Linked DNA regions of Homo sapiens: all the other regions are linked to region 2. The links are contacts of gene promoters, found by promoter capture Hi-C in blood cells and fetal thymus (Javierre and others, 2016). All regions are on one chromosome and are shown on one strand. The core of a region is centred on a gene start or on the middle of the fragment in contact, and the rest is flanking DNA. Distances in the headings are between cores, read along the strand shown. Region 1 overlaps SYNE1 (spectrin repeat containing nuclear envelope protein 1). Region 2 holds the start of SYNE1-AS2 (SYNE1 antisense RNA 2). Region 3 overlaps SYNE1 (spectrin repeat containing nuclear envelope protein 1). Region 4 overlaps SYNE1 (spectrin repeat containing nuclear envelope protein 1).

The links. The method cuts DNA at HindIII sites, captures the fragments that hold promoters and counts their contacts. A CHiCAGO score of 5 or more calls a contact.
Region 1: a contact is called between a fragment that was not itself captured here and the fragment with the promoter of SYNE1-AS2 in region 2, in 1 of 17 cell types (neutrophils). The highest score is 14.1, in neutrophils.
Region 3: a contact is called between a fragment that was not itself captured here and the fragment with the promoter of SYNE1-AS2 in region 2, in 1 of 17 cell types (neutrophils). The highest score is 12.1, in neutrophils.
Region 4: a fragment that was not itself captured here is called in contact with the fragment with the promoter of SYNE1-AS2 in region 2 in 1 of 17 cell types (neutrophils); the score reaches 6.4 in neutrophils.

The regions. Positions count from the first base shown.
Region 1 is chr6:152,236,346-152,239,839 of GRCh38, forward strand. It overlaps SYNE1 (spectrin repeat containing nuclear envelope protein 1), which reads right to left. Exons shown (of 146, transcript NM_182961.4): 108 at 3,188-3,361; 109 at 472-603. Among named protein-coding and RNA genes, the nearest start is that of SYNE1-AS1, 140 kb to the right of the region's middle. The HindIII fragment of the contact is 6,097 bases long and covers 1-3,494 here.
Region 2 is chr6:152,400,614-152,403,928 of GRCh38, forward strand. It overlaps SYNE1-AS2 (SYNE1 antisense RNA 2), which reads left to right and starts at 1,633. Exons shown (of 2, transcript XR_007059819.1): 1 at 1,633-2,054. SYNE1 (spectrin repeat containing nuclear envelope protein 1) reads right to left here. Exons shown (of 146, transcript NM_182961.4): 47 at 525-728. The HindIII fragment of the contact is 21,096 bases long and covers 1-3,315 here.
Region 3 is chr6:152,217,988-152,221,110 of GRCh38, forward strand. SYNE1 (spectrin repeat containing nuclear envelope protein 1) reads right to left here. Exons shown (of 146, transcript NM_182961.4): 119 at 2,855-3,059; 120 at 1,016-1,198; 121 at 270-416. Among named protein-coding and RNA genes, the nearest start is that of SYNE1-AS1, 160 kb to the right of the region's middle. The HindIII fragment of the contact is 2,405 bases long and covers 372-2,776 here.
Region 4 is chr6:152,198,507-152,201,838 of GRCh38, forward strand. SYNE1 (spectrin repeat containing nuclear envelope protein 1) reads right to left here. Exons shown (of 146, transcript NM_182961.4): 127 at 3,318-3,332. Among named protein-coding and RNA genes, the nearest start is that of SYNE1-AS1, 180 kb to the right of the region's middle. The HindIII fragment of the contact is 3,321 bases long and covers 55-3,332 here.

The DNA.
Region 1 (3,494 bases), core at 629-3,128, 160 kb before region 2:
TTTTTGTCTTTAAGAATTATAATTTCTCTGGTACCTACAATGTTCCCATTACCTGTTATTCAAACTTAAACTATACTCACTCAAGTAACATTGAAAACTTTAAGATGTTTCATCTATATTTAAGTATAGACAGTCTCCTTTTGTTGTTTATTATTTTTTTTTTGGTAATGACTTTAGGTGGATTTAAAACTGTCAAATTATTATTTCAAGAATTGTGTGGCATCAGCATAAACTACAGAAAATGCTTGGTGGAGGCTGAATTTTCAAAAAGAGCTCTCAGTAAAAAAAAGAAAAAAGAAAGACTTTTAATAATGTCCAACTATAAATAACAGAAACATTATCTCCTTTCAATGTCAATAACTTGAAAGAAAAGTAAAAGTACTAATAAAATAATTGATCACAAGTTTGTTTACATTCTGTTAAAACTATTGGTAAGTTTCTAAAGGCAATGTGGCGGCTTGTAACACCAACCTGGTAGAGTGTTATGCGGTCAATAAGCCTGTCCTCGTTCTCCTCCACCAGACCCACGCTTGGGATGCTGCTTTCCACCACCTCCAGCTGTCTGCTGAGCTCCTGCTGGTCCTCATCCAGATGGGACCACGTCTAGAAACACAACATGAGTCTGTGAGCTAAAAAAACCCTCATTAGCGAAAGACATTCTTCCTTGGGTGCAAAATACGTGCCTGACAGTCTCTCCTTAAAGTTATATCAGAGATGTTTGCGTTGGGCCTTGCTTTGGGAAGCAAAAGATGGCTTTAAAGCAAGTAATCAAATGGTGACCCTTGAAAGCATTGTGAATGGGCTCTGGAATCTGCCACTAAGCCCCTTTACAACTGTGAGTAAGCTACTAAACTCTGTACCTCTTTTCCATACGTTACAATGGGGATAATAATAGCTATCTTCTCCATCATGAGGATTAAATGGAATAATGTATGCAGTGTACCTTCTATTGGGTATGCACTTTTTTTTTTTTTTTTTTTTTTAGATAGGCTCTCACTCTGTTGCCCAGGCTGGAGTACAGTGGCACAATCATGGATCACTGTAGACTCGAACTCCTGGGCTCAAGGGATCCTCCTGCTTCATCCTCCCAAGTAGCTGGGACCACAGGCGCATTCCACCACACCAGGCTAACTTAAAAAAAATTTTTTTGTAGAGATGGGGGTCTCACTATGTTGTCCAGCCTGGTCTCAAACTCCTGGTATCAAAAGATCCTCCTGCTTCAGCCTCCCAAAGTGCTGGGATTACAGGCATGAGCCACCACATCTAGCCCAGGTATGTATGGTTTTATTCTTTACCACAGTAAGGATTTAAGTCAAAAGGATGGGGATGTTTGCCTTTCATGTAACGAGTAAACAAATCAATTACATTTGCATATGAAACATATCTATAAATATGAATATATAGTTTATATATTCTGTTAAAGAAAAATACCACATCACTTATTCCTAAGTTCAGACTTTTATTTTATTTAAAACTGGAAAACACTTTTTAAAAGATCAGTTGAAGTCTTTTCCAGTAATTTACGCTGTGGGTCAGCAGTTTCTCAGTGTGAGTATGCTCACTTCACTGTGCAGTTGGAGTGGCAACAGGGCACAGTAGTAGAAACCCATGCTTTTTAAATACACTTACCAAATATCTATTGCCTGGTATTTTCAATGCCTAGGGATCTGGGAGTAAATAAAACAGACACAAACCCAGGCCTTCTAGTGAGGAGAGACAGGCAATCAATAATAAACAATAAACCAAAAACAAACAATAAGTTGTATGGTATAATAGAGTTCTTGTGCTGTGGAAGAATAAAACAGAACTGGGTAGGGGTGGGAGGGAGTGCCCAGGTGTGTGCCTGGTGGGGCTACAATTTAAATGGTGTCATCAGGTAAGTTTCATGGAGAAACACACATTTCAGGTCGTGAAGTCAGACAGATGAAGGTGTGATCTCTGACTTTGCCACCAATTAACCACGTGTCTTGGCAAACAGTTGCTCCCAGACTCATTGCTGAAACAGGGATTCAAAATTCTATCTCAAAGGGTTATGATAAAGATGAGATGGATTCATGTAAATGTAAGAAGTCTTGCCAGGGACCTGACATGTCAATAAAGTGTAACTATTATTACAGAGATTTCAAACGTTAAAGGTAGATGTCTCTCCAAAATATAGGGAATTCCACATCAGGGAATTCCACATCTGGGATTTGGGGGTTAGCTACCTATGAAAATGTTGGCCCAGGGAAAATCCCATTTAGAAAAAATGCAAATACGACCTGCAGGCAACCCAGTTAAGATCAGTAATATTGTGGGAGTGGGTGGGGAAGTCCACAAAGGGGAGAGAGATTATAATCTCTAAAACTTCCAAGGGAAAGAGGAAGAATGAGAAAGCAGGAACAGTTTAGGGCAACTGGTACAGTTACTGAAGAAAGAAAGGGGACTGTTCCATCAATAATGTCCTACATTTCCACGGGGTTCTATAGCTTGCCAGTAGCCACCACTGAGCACTACTCTGTTCCAAGAGCAACCGCATTTGGGACAGAAAAAAATATTTCTACATTTTACTTTCATTTTTTTTTTTTTTTGAGACAGAGTTTTACTCCCGTTGCCCAGGCTGGAGTGCAATGGTGTGACCTTGGCTCACTGCAACCACTGCCTCCCGGTTCAAGTGATTCTCCTGCCTCAGCCTCCCAAGTAGCTGAGATTACAGGCACCCACGACGACGTCCGGCTAATTTTTTGTATTTTTAGTAGAGACGGGGTTTCAACATGTTGGTTTGTTTCATCATGTTGGCCAGGCTGGTCTCGAACTCCTGACCTCAAGTGATCCACCCGCCTCAGCCTCCCAAAGTGCTGGGATGACAGGTGTGAGCCACTGCACCTGGCCTATTTCTACATTTTTCATACTCTTAAGTAAGCTATCAGTCTGAATATCAAAACCCCAAATATCTTCATGCATAGTCTGAAGTCAGTGTGTATCTATCTTACTTTCGACATGGCACAGCAGATAGCCCAATGTACACAGAAAACACAGGGGGAATAAGCAACACAGAACCATAGGAAAAGTGCAGTCCTGAGCCCGAGAGCGCAGCTAGTTCTGAGGTTATGTGAGGCAAACTGCATGGATAGATACATCTTGCATTAAAGGTCTATTTTGCAGCAGGAAGTTTGCAGCACAGAAGATATGACATCAATGGTCTCACCTCTAGAATGTACTCCAGCTCCACACCCCTCTTGTGAGCCCGTTTCAGTACAGCAGAAGCCTGAGCCATCAGCTCTGTATGGAACTGGGTTTCCTTTTGGACTGCAAAGCTGATTATCTTTCTGAAGAGTGTTTCAGTCAAGATCATATGAGATTCCAGGCCCTGAAAGTATTCCTGCAATTTTTCAGGAAGAAAGAAGTCAGCAACTCATTCATATATTATGTTAGAATCAAAATTGGTTTAGGGCCGGGTGCGGTGGCTCACGCCTGTAATCCCAACAGTTGGGGAGGCTGAAGTGGGTGGATTA
Region 2 (3,315 bases), core at 383-2,882:
ATTGTGCCACTGCACTCCAGCCTGGGTGACAGAGTGAGATTCCATCTCAAAAAATAAAAATAAAAAAATAGAAAACATGGAAATAGAATGTTTTCTCAACTTCTTCTTTTTCAAAAAATATACATTATCTGGATGAAAGAAGTCACAGTGACCAATAAATATAATTAAGTGATGAAAAACTATTGGATACTCAAGTTTGAAAATTTGTGGAAGTCACATAGTTCTTCCAGAGGCTCCACCCTTTTATAAAAAAGAAAAAAAAACTTTGAACAAGCATAGACTCTGAGCAGGCACTACAGCAACACATGCTTTCTATTTTCAAGGTATTCATTTTTGATTTCTGAACACCTGCACCCAGTTCTTCACGTGTTGCTTACTTTGCTGTGTTCAATGTCATAAATAAGTTGGTCTGGTGTTCATATGGGTAACTGAGAGCAGAGGTTATATTTTTTATTATAGTCACCACAAAACAGAACTACAATCACCATTTGAATGGAAGCACTTAATGATAGTTTATTACCTACCTTGACTTTTTTCAATGCTTCACAAGTCTCATTTTGGGCACAGTTCATCAACGATTCTTCCACTTTTGTGAACCATGTTGTTATGTCATTAATAAACTTCTCCACTTGTGTACTTTGAGCCGTGAAATCCTTCAGGGTTCCTTTTGCTACTTCAGTTATTTCTTTGGCATGCTCCAGTTTCTGCATTAAGTCTGCTTCTATAAACTAAATATCAAGCAAGATTTCATCAATATCTCTGAAGACCAGAAGAATACTCATTCAGTAGAAATTCTGTTCACGTGCAGCTTAATTGTCAAAGCCACACAAGTCTCATCATGGAAGCCAGCTCCAATGTTAATATGCCTTTCCAAGAAGGAAAATCAGTGGACACAGTTGCCAAACACATGAAGTGATGGGCAAATAGAAAGAGGAAGGATTGTGTTAACACTGGGTGGGAGAGTGGAAGCTCTAACTGAGGTTCCAGGGAAGATGTGAGAGGGCATTCTGAAAGTAGAGCTAGACCTACCCAGAATTCCCAGGTGGTGACCAAAAATCTGCTCTTGATTCTCCCTGGAAATACCCATTGTCTGCTCAGATGTAACACTATCTGGGGCAAACATCACTGTAGGATTTTATCATAAAACAATTTTATTTTTGTCCCCACTGTTGCTTTAAAATATTGAGTGGGGCTAGTTATTCTCTTTTCCCTGGATGATATAGCTGAGGAGGGTCGACTTCTATGGCCCCCTAGTTAGTCAAAGGACATATAGTCACTATACATTGAAAAACAATCTCAATTCCACAATTCAAACATCCTGGCCTATTTGGTAATGAAAACTTTGAACTTAACTTAAATTGAAGGCTTCTATTCTTACCCCCACCTCAGATCTGCTGGGAGCAGGAGACCAACAGTGTGGAAGGGAGTAAATATCTTTCTTTCTCTTCCTTCATTTTATTTCTATTCTGCCACCCTGTGTAAGGCTTCTTTCTCCCATAGGCTCAGACTGGCAGGAGGCGGGTGAGGCATTCTGACTCACTGGATGGGCATCTGTGCCCTCTAGGCCAGGCAAGGTTTAGCATTCATTCCTCCTCCCATAGGCCTTGGTCTTGTGTTTTTCTGACTTTTTTCATGCTTGGACTTCCCAGTGAAGTTCCCTAGACACGACAGTGCGCTGTTCTTTGGCTCTTTACTTTCTCATTCCTCAGCCTGGAGGCCTTTCTTTAACTTCTCATTGCTAAGGTCTGTTTATCCTCCAGATAGCCTTCTTAGGCCACCTATAATATCCTCATATGGTGGTCTCTTCCTTTCTTTTCCTCTCCTGGTTCATATTTGGGCCAGAGTGACCTCTGGCATTTACCTCCAACTAACTTTGAGGTGCAGGACCCCACAAGCCATCATTTATCCTTTGGCAAATATAGCAGCAGTTAGCCAGCCTGTCTGTCACTTTTAGGATTCTTTGGGGGATAGAGATCAGACTCCCATGCCTGCCAAATGCAGGGGACAAATATCCTGTTCTTCAGGTGGCACTGCCGGAACCCTTCTGCCTTGAGGTAAGGTAAGCCACCCCCTCACCTCTTCCTTGAGTATACATAGGGGTGCATGTATGTGCACACGTGTGTGTGTGTGTGAGAGAGAGAAAGACAGAGAGAGAGAGAAACAGAGAGAGAGAGAGAGAGAAAGGAAGAAAGAGAAGACTAGAGTACACCAATAACTCTCTGAAGATCCTGCTCAACTCTGTAAAAGTCCAACTGTTAACCATTGATATCCCCAACACAGGCGGCATGCATAAGGACTCTTTATCTTTTTTGCATATGGATAGCACCTCCTTTGTGTCTTCTTACTTCACACGAAACTTCTAGCATTCCTGTGCATGTATATCATCCCTAATGGTACTGCTGAACAAGCAGTCTCAGGTCAGAGCAAAAGCATAACTGATCAACTAGATTGATTGCTTAGCCCAAAGTAGCAAATCAAAGAGAAAGCACAAGAAGAAGAAAGGAAATGTAGAGAAAATCAACAGAAGCAGCAACACATATGGAAGCTAAAGGGATGCAGCAGAAACCTGAGCCTGGAGCCAGTGGGGCTGCCAGCCAAAAGAGACCCACCATGCTGGATGCTTCCAGGGCTTGGGCACTGAAGTAGCCCAGGTGTTCTGACCAGTGCTGATCTACCCTGGCCTGCTTCATGGTTCCCGTGGATTTGTGCCATCTGAAGGGCCGTGAAGGGAGGTTTATAGTGGTGATCCCTCTAAACCCAGTTATTCAGTAACAGCATTAGGAAAATATCAATAAGAACATCAACATTCATAAGAAGGGTTTCTAGGCTGGGCGCAGTGGCTCACACCTGTAATCCCAGCACTTTGGGAGGCTGAGGCAGGCAGATTGCATGAGCTCAGGAGTACAAGACCAGCCTTGGCAACATGGCAAAACCTCCTGTCTACAAAAAATTTAAAAAATTAGCCTGCCATGGTGGCACGTGCCTGTAGTCTCAGCTACCAGGGAGGCTGAGGTGGGAGAATTGCTTGAGCTTGGGAGGCAGAGGTTGCAGTAAGCCGAGATTGCACCACTGCACTCCACCCTGGGTGACAGAGTGAGACCCTGTCTCAATAAACAAACAAACAACCAACATCAAAAACACCAAAAAAAGAGGGGGTTCTGTTCCTGTCTAGACATGAAATGGTCCATGAGGCAACTTGGCTGAAATGCTTCCGAAATTCAGTAGGCAAAAAAAGAACTACCCTTATTATAATATTCGAGTTGGAAATATGCTATTAATACTGGCTGAAGGAATGTGGAAATATATTAATATTTT
Region 3 (3,123 bases), core at 324-2,823, 180 kb before region 2:
GACCTCGGGTGATCAGTTCAAGACCAGTGAAACCTCGTCTCTACTAAAAATACAAAAACTAGCCAGGAGTGGTGGCGTGCCCCTATAATCCTAGCTACTCGGGAGGATGAGGCAGAATCGCTTGAACCCGGAAAGCAGAGGTTGCAGTGAGCCGAGATCACACCACGGCACTCCAGCTTGGGCGACAGAGTGAGACTCCATCTCAAAAAAAAAAAGATTTTTGAAGACAGATGGTAAAAGATCTGGGACTCAGATTTGAACACACTTACCTTAAGTTCTTCCATCCTTTCCTGGATTGTGGAGAGGTCAGATGAGTGGCTAGGGTCCTGCCCTTGTAGTATTTCTTCAGCTTCCACTATCCAGGCCTCCAAAGCTTCTAAACTCTTGGCAAAGGTTTCATAATCAAGAACTCCAGCCTTTTTTTCCACAAAAGAAATTGGTATTTCAGTTAAAAAAAAAAAAATTGGTATTTTAATAAAGTCTGGTAAAAGGGCAAGTGGATATTAAAATTATTTTTCATATTCTTGTATCAAATTGCCATTCTCTAGACGTTCCTATAAAAAAAGCTATAACAATTTAAATCTTCTTTATGTAATTTTTCTAAAAACTATAATTATTTCTATGCACCATAAGTCAATAACAATTCAAATTATTCTTTAAATACATGATCAAACAACACGTCTGAAAAATCTTCTGATTCTTGTAAAAGTCTGAGTTAAATAAACACGAATATTTATATTAAAGCCGCTTAGTGTTTATTAATTGAACAGGCCATGGTGGCAGGCATTGGTTCAGGGGCTTGCATCTTAAACCGATTTTAAAATTCCTTGGCAGAGAACAGCGCAAAACGTCCACCTTCATCGTCCCCACCAGAACTTCCAAGTTTGTTTACTTGCTATTTTCTTGAGTCTTGAAGGAGGCATTGTTGCCATGACAAGGAATTCTTTTTCTGTGTTTGTGCCCAGATATTAGAGAACAGCCAATATACAGAAGATACTAAATAGGAGCTCTGTACCTGTAATGAAGTCTGCTGTTTGCAGAGAGCTTGCTCCAGGGCACACAAGTGTTGACTCAAAGAGAGTTGATCCGATTGAATAGCTGATGCTGCGGAAGCATCCACTTGTTGCTTCAGTTGCTCTCCCAGCTCATGGAGAAAAAAGAGGGAATCTTTAACTGTGCCCAGTCCTTTGAGGAGGTCCTAGAAGAGGTGAAAATATGCCCACTCTGAAGCATGTTGATACTCCTTATCATAAACAGCAATCGGCAAAGGGCTACACATGTAGAAACACACCATTCCTACGGATCATATTATTAGGCTAAATAAACTTCACCTGTGGAAAAATGAACACGCACTGAACCCCATTTTTTAAAATGCTATGTTAATATTTTAAACATACATTATACACATATAACCTATGGCTATATATAATTACTCTTTTGTTAGTAAAAGCTATGTAGGTTCATTACAGGACCTTGGGGAAATGCAGAAAAACATACATAAACAAGAAAAAAAAAAAAAACAAACATGACCCAAGAGTAGAGCCAATAACTGGAAATATTTTGGCAGTTTTTTTCCTGCCTCTTTATGTAATTTGTATCAAATTGAAAACAAAATGTTATATTTTTCCTTTTTCTATTATTATCATACACACCAGGAATTTGTCCGTGGTGTCTTCTATATGTGTGGTCACATTATTGCAAGTACAGCAACCTCCTATCTCAGTAGGGTACAGAACACAGTGATGATTTTGGTGAGCAGGGGGTGAGAGTAGCCTGTATTCCCATTCTTTTCCATGGGATCTCTTTGCCTCCACTTTCTGTGGGACCCTCCTACAGGTTAAAAAATATAAGCCAATGGAAACTCCCTGTTTCTGCTTTCTATCCTATCATTGAGAGATAATAAGTGACTGCTTCTTCTACCTGTTGCTGGTATCCCACTCAGTCATGTTATGCCTAGGCAGTGACTTCTGTGAGAGAAAGAAGAACAAAGGGCTCTTTACGCTTGACACAGATAACAGACAAGGTGTATTTCAATTCAGGAGTATTGAAAATGACAGTTCTTGTACACACAAATTATGTGGATGAAAAAAGCACTGTATTATCTTTATTTTAAAATACCCATCTTTAGCTTTAAAGTGATTATTCAGGTTGAAGATATTAGAATAGGTTAAACTTTTATTTACATAGTTTTTATAGCTTGCCTAATTCTAATAAACTGATTTGGAAAAGTTTATAAAAAGATCCTCGTAACAAGCTCTTAAAAATAAAGACAAATAAGGACAAATAGTAAGAGCCATGTAATGCTTGAAACAAGAGAAGAGCTGTTCCTTAAACCCTTAAGTAGGTTATTGGCAGCTACAGTGAAAAAGAGAATTATTAAAAAGCCATTAAAAGAAGTATACCAGTAAATTAGGAGAGAAAGACTTCTTTCTACCATTAATATCTTAGATGAAACTATTGTGTAGATGCTTACATAGGAGTTAATGAATGTAAATGGACAACATCTGGAACAGAAGATTTTTTAAAGATAGAACACTATTCCCCATATGGTCATGTCTTATATTGACCACCCTAGAAAACACAAAGAGCCTCAATCTTTCACATTGACTAAATTCCACTAGGAAAAATGGGAAAACAACTCATTTTAAAAAATAAAACAATGGGAGGAGACCTCTTAGTCTGATGCATGTGCACCTGTGTTCTGAAAATCAGGCAGGCTCTTTGATCCTAAGACAGTTATTTTTGGGTAACTGTCTCACATAGAAAGACATACCAAAGCTTACACAGACCAAAAGCTAAACTTGGGCAGTCTAAGAAGGGCATGTGGGGAAAACAAGGTAGCTCCTGAACATACGTTGCAATCTTGAATCCATGTGGCAACCTCATCATCGGCAATGTCCTTGTTTGTGGCTGCCTTCAACAGCTCATTGGTTCGATCCTCCTGCTGCTGAACTGTCGAAGCACACTGTTTGGAGTAGTCCTTGTATCTTTGCCAAAGCTGAAGTAGGGCCTTGCTGGACTGTAGCTGCTCAGCAATCTCTTCCAGCAAGTTATTCCATCTGGAAATAATAACCAACACTCATGAGCAGATTACCACCTCTCACCAAATGTGGATATGTGCTA
Region 4 (3,332 bases), core at 465-2,964, 200 kb before region 2:
CACAAGAGGCCTAGCTTTTGGCCTGTTCCAGCTTTTGACATGTCTTCCTCACTAAGCTTAATCATTTCTAGCTTTTGATTTAAAGTGAGAGACATGAGATTTTTTTCAATTGAACACTCAGAGGCCACTGTATGAATTGGCCTAATTTCAATATTGTTGTGTCTCAGCAAATAAGGAGGCCAGAGGAGAAGGAGAGAGATTGGGAACATTGTTGGTGGAGCAATCAGAACACATGCTACATTTATGAATTAAGATTGCTGACTTCTATGGGCACAGTGTGTGGTGCCACTAATTACAATAGCACCATCAAAGGTCACACTGACTGTAGATCACTGTAACAAATATAACAGTAAAGAAAAAGTTTGGAATATTGTGAGAATTACCAAAATTATGCAGACATATAAAGTGAGCACATGCTGTTGGAAAAATGGTGCTGGTAGACTTGTTCTATGCAGCAATGCCACAATCTTCAATTTGTAAAAAAAAAAAAAAAAACCAAAAAACAAAAAACAAAACATAGGATCTGTGAAACACACTAAAACAAGTGCAATAAAATGAGGTTTGCCCATATTTCATTTGCTTCCACATAATTTGATAAATTGCTAAGTCCTTCTGATAAAGTATGATTGCCTGCAGAATCTTTCTGCCATCTACTCATCATTTTATTGATTTAAAATTTTTTTTTCCTAAATTGAAGTTTAATCACTGTATTGATCTTCTTTACTTTAGACTGACTTCATAAACCTCTAACTTATCCTTTCTTTTTGTCCTGAATTGCTGATCACACTGATGAAATATTTTTAAAAACAGACACCTAAATTTAACTTTCATTTTCAAGCACTATAGAGTTGCTACATTCTGTGATCTATACTTATAATGTAATAGCTGAGAAGATCTGTTGCTGTTACTACTCAATTTAAAACAATGCACTGAATACATTTTCTGCAGGATCAGACATTTCTTTAAGTTACTAAAAAAGATTATGTACCCTGTCTTTTAGGGGAATGATTTAAGAAAAAAAAATTCATATAGCAATATTTGAATGAGTTGACATTAGTTTTTACAATATTTTGACCAATTACCAGTTTTGCAATTTGTATAACCAGCTGTTGTTTTTAGATTCCAGCTAGTTTTGTGTATAAATAGAGTATTTCATGTGCCGTTTCCCCTCCCTTTATGTGTCTTTACACGGTAGAAAGGTTTCCAAAGGCAATGGCAATTAGCGGTGCTGTCTGAGGCTAACTTCCCAAGCAATTTAGGCAAACAAGATTTTAGCCTGAATTTTCCAGGTAATTGCCTTGTTTTGCTGCTAAGGGCAGTTTGGGGAAGAGTAGCAGGACTAGACGAAAATACATTTTTTAAATCTACACACTCAATAGCAGCGTGTGTTTGTAACTGTCATGTTTTTTGGGAGATAAAAAATGACGCCCCATGGCAACAGTATTTGGCTGAAAGACCAAACCATCTAGGTTAATTAAATATGCAACATTTCTTCTAATACTTCTAAACATATTCAATTGTTATACCACTGGAAAGATTTTCCACTTTTCACACCGATTTCTACCCCCCCAACTCGAGCATCAGATTTGTATATGGATTTAACAAAAGTACATAATAACACCACCACCAAAAACCAACTGTTTCAGACGCACAGTATACCAACCCCTTAAACGAGTCAGTGTGGCAAAAATATAGCCTGTAGATACAGGCAACCCAGATATTTACTGACTTTGAAAAGTTATTAAATTTCCAGAGGCCTCAGTTTTCCCTTCTGAAAAGGGGCAATAATAAATGTTTTCACGAGCTTTTGTTAATGCCAACTGAGATAACACCAATATAGTCACAGCCCCTAATAAATGCCCATTCCTGCTTTGCAGAAGTTTTCTTTAATAATTTTTAATGTATTTATTTTTTTACAGACAGGGTCTCACTCTGTCAGCCAGGCTGGATGCAGTGGTGTGATCATAGCTCACTGCAGCCTCAGATTCCTAAGTGATCCTCCTGCCTCAGCCTCCCCAGTAGCTAGGACTACAGGCAAGCACCACCACTCTGGTTAATTTTTAAATTTCTTTAGATATGGAGTCTTGCCATATTGCCCAGGCTGATCTTGAACATCTGGTCTCAAATGATCTGTTTGCCTTGGCCTCCAAAGTGCTGGGATTACAGGCATGATCCACCACACCCGGCTTCTTTATTTTTAATAAATTTATCATCACAGGTTCAAAATGCGCTTTTTAATCTTTGTAACCATTGCATACTTCTGAATGTAACAGCTCAAGATAGTACTTCTTTCACTTTCCATCCATGATGTAAAATATACTACCTTTTAACTTTCCTAAATCTGCCTTTTTCAAGTTTCAAATAATATCCTTAGATTTTACAACTGAAGAAAAAATTCTTATAGCCACACTTTTCATGATTTCTAGACCTCTTTAACAATTATCATCTCTTAAATGCTTAGGATTTCTTTGCCAAAGTGAGGCAGAGAATTTCTAATTAAAACCCAAGTCATTTAAGTATATGCGAATTTTTAACAGAATTACCCTAGAGCAATAATTTGCAAATGACTGGGGAACACAAGGGCATGTTTAATTTGAAAGAAAAACATTTTTAAAGGTACGTTTGATATGATCAGCCTATTGCTCAGCAAAGAACTGCTGTTTGGACATTTCACTTGGCTACAAAGATGTGAAAGGCATGAATCTTATAGCCACTGAATTGTGTTGGTCTCGGTGAGCTCATAATCCAGGGAGTGATCTGTATTAGCTACTGACTTGCTTCCAAGTACCATTTGAAGTGTTGATCATAATCTTTAAGTACTTAGAGCCCTGAGCAATTTAGGGATTGTGTGTCTCTATGCAGTCACTGAGATAAGCTATTTTTCCCCCTTTCCTTGCATAATGGTCTAGAGGGCAGGGTGTGTTCTTTGGAGGGCCACTGTCTGCAGATTTTCCAGGCTGTTGATCCTTTTTTTTTTTTTTCCTTCTTGTAGACTCGATTCTTCTGGTAGAATGACTCCCCAGTGTGGATGCTTCAAAAAAAATGACTTTATTGCTCTTGACTCAGCTTTTAAATATCTTTTAATGTGTTTTAAATTTTCATTTGCTTCCTTGGAGTAATCCATAAACTAGTCTATAATTTCATCAACTGCAATAAATCAGCCATACAAGTTTCACCTGAGTTGCCTGTCCTTATGTCATATACTAGGATCTTGTATCTGCATGTAGATAACCTAAGAGTTTGACTGGATTATGGCCCCAAAGACATTCCAGCAGAGGCACACAGGTGACGGTGAAAATCTCAGTTCAGTAATTTACCTTGCAACGCATTTG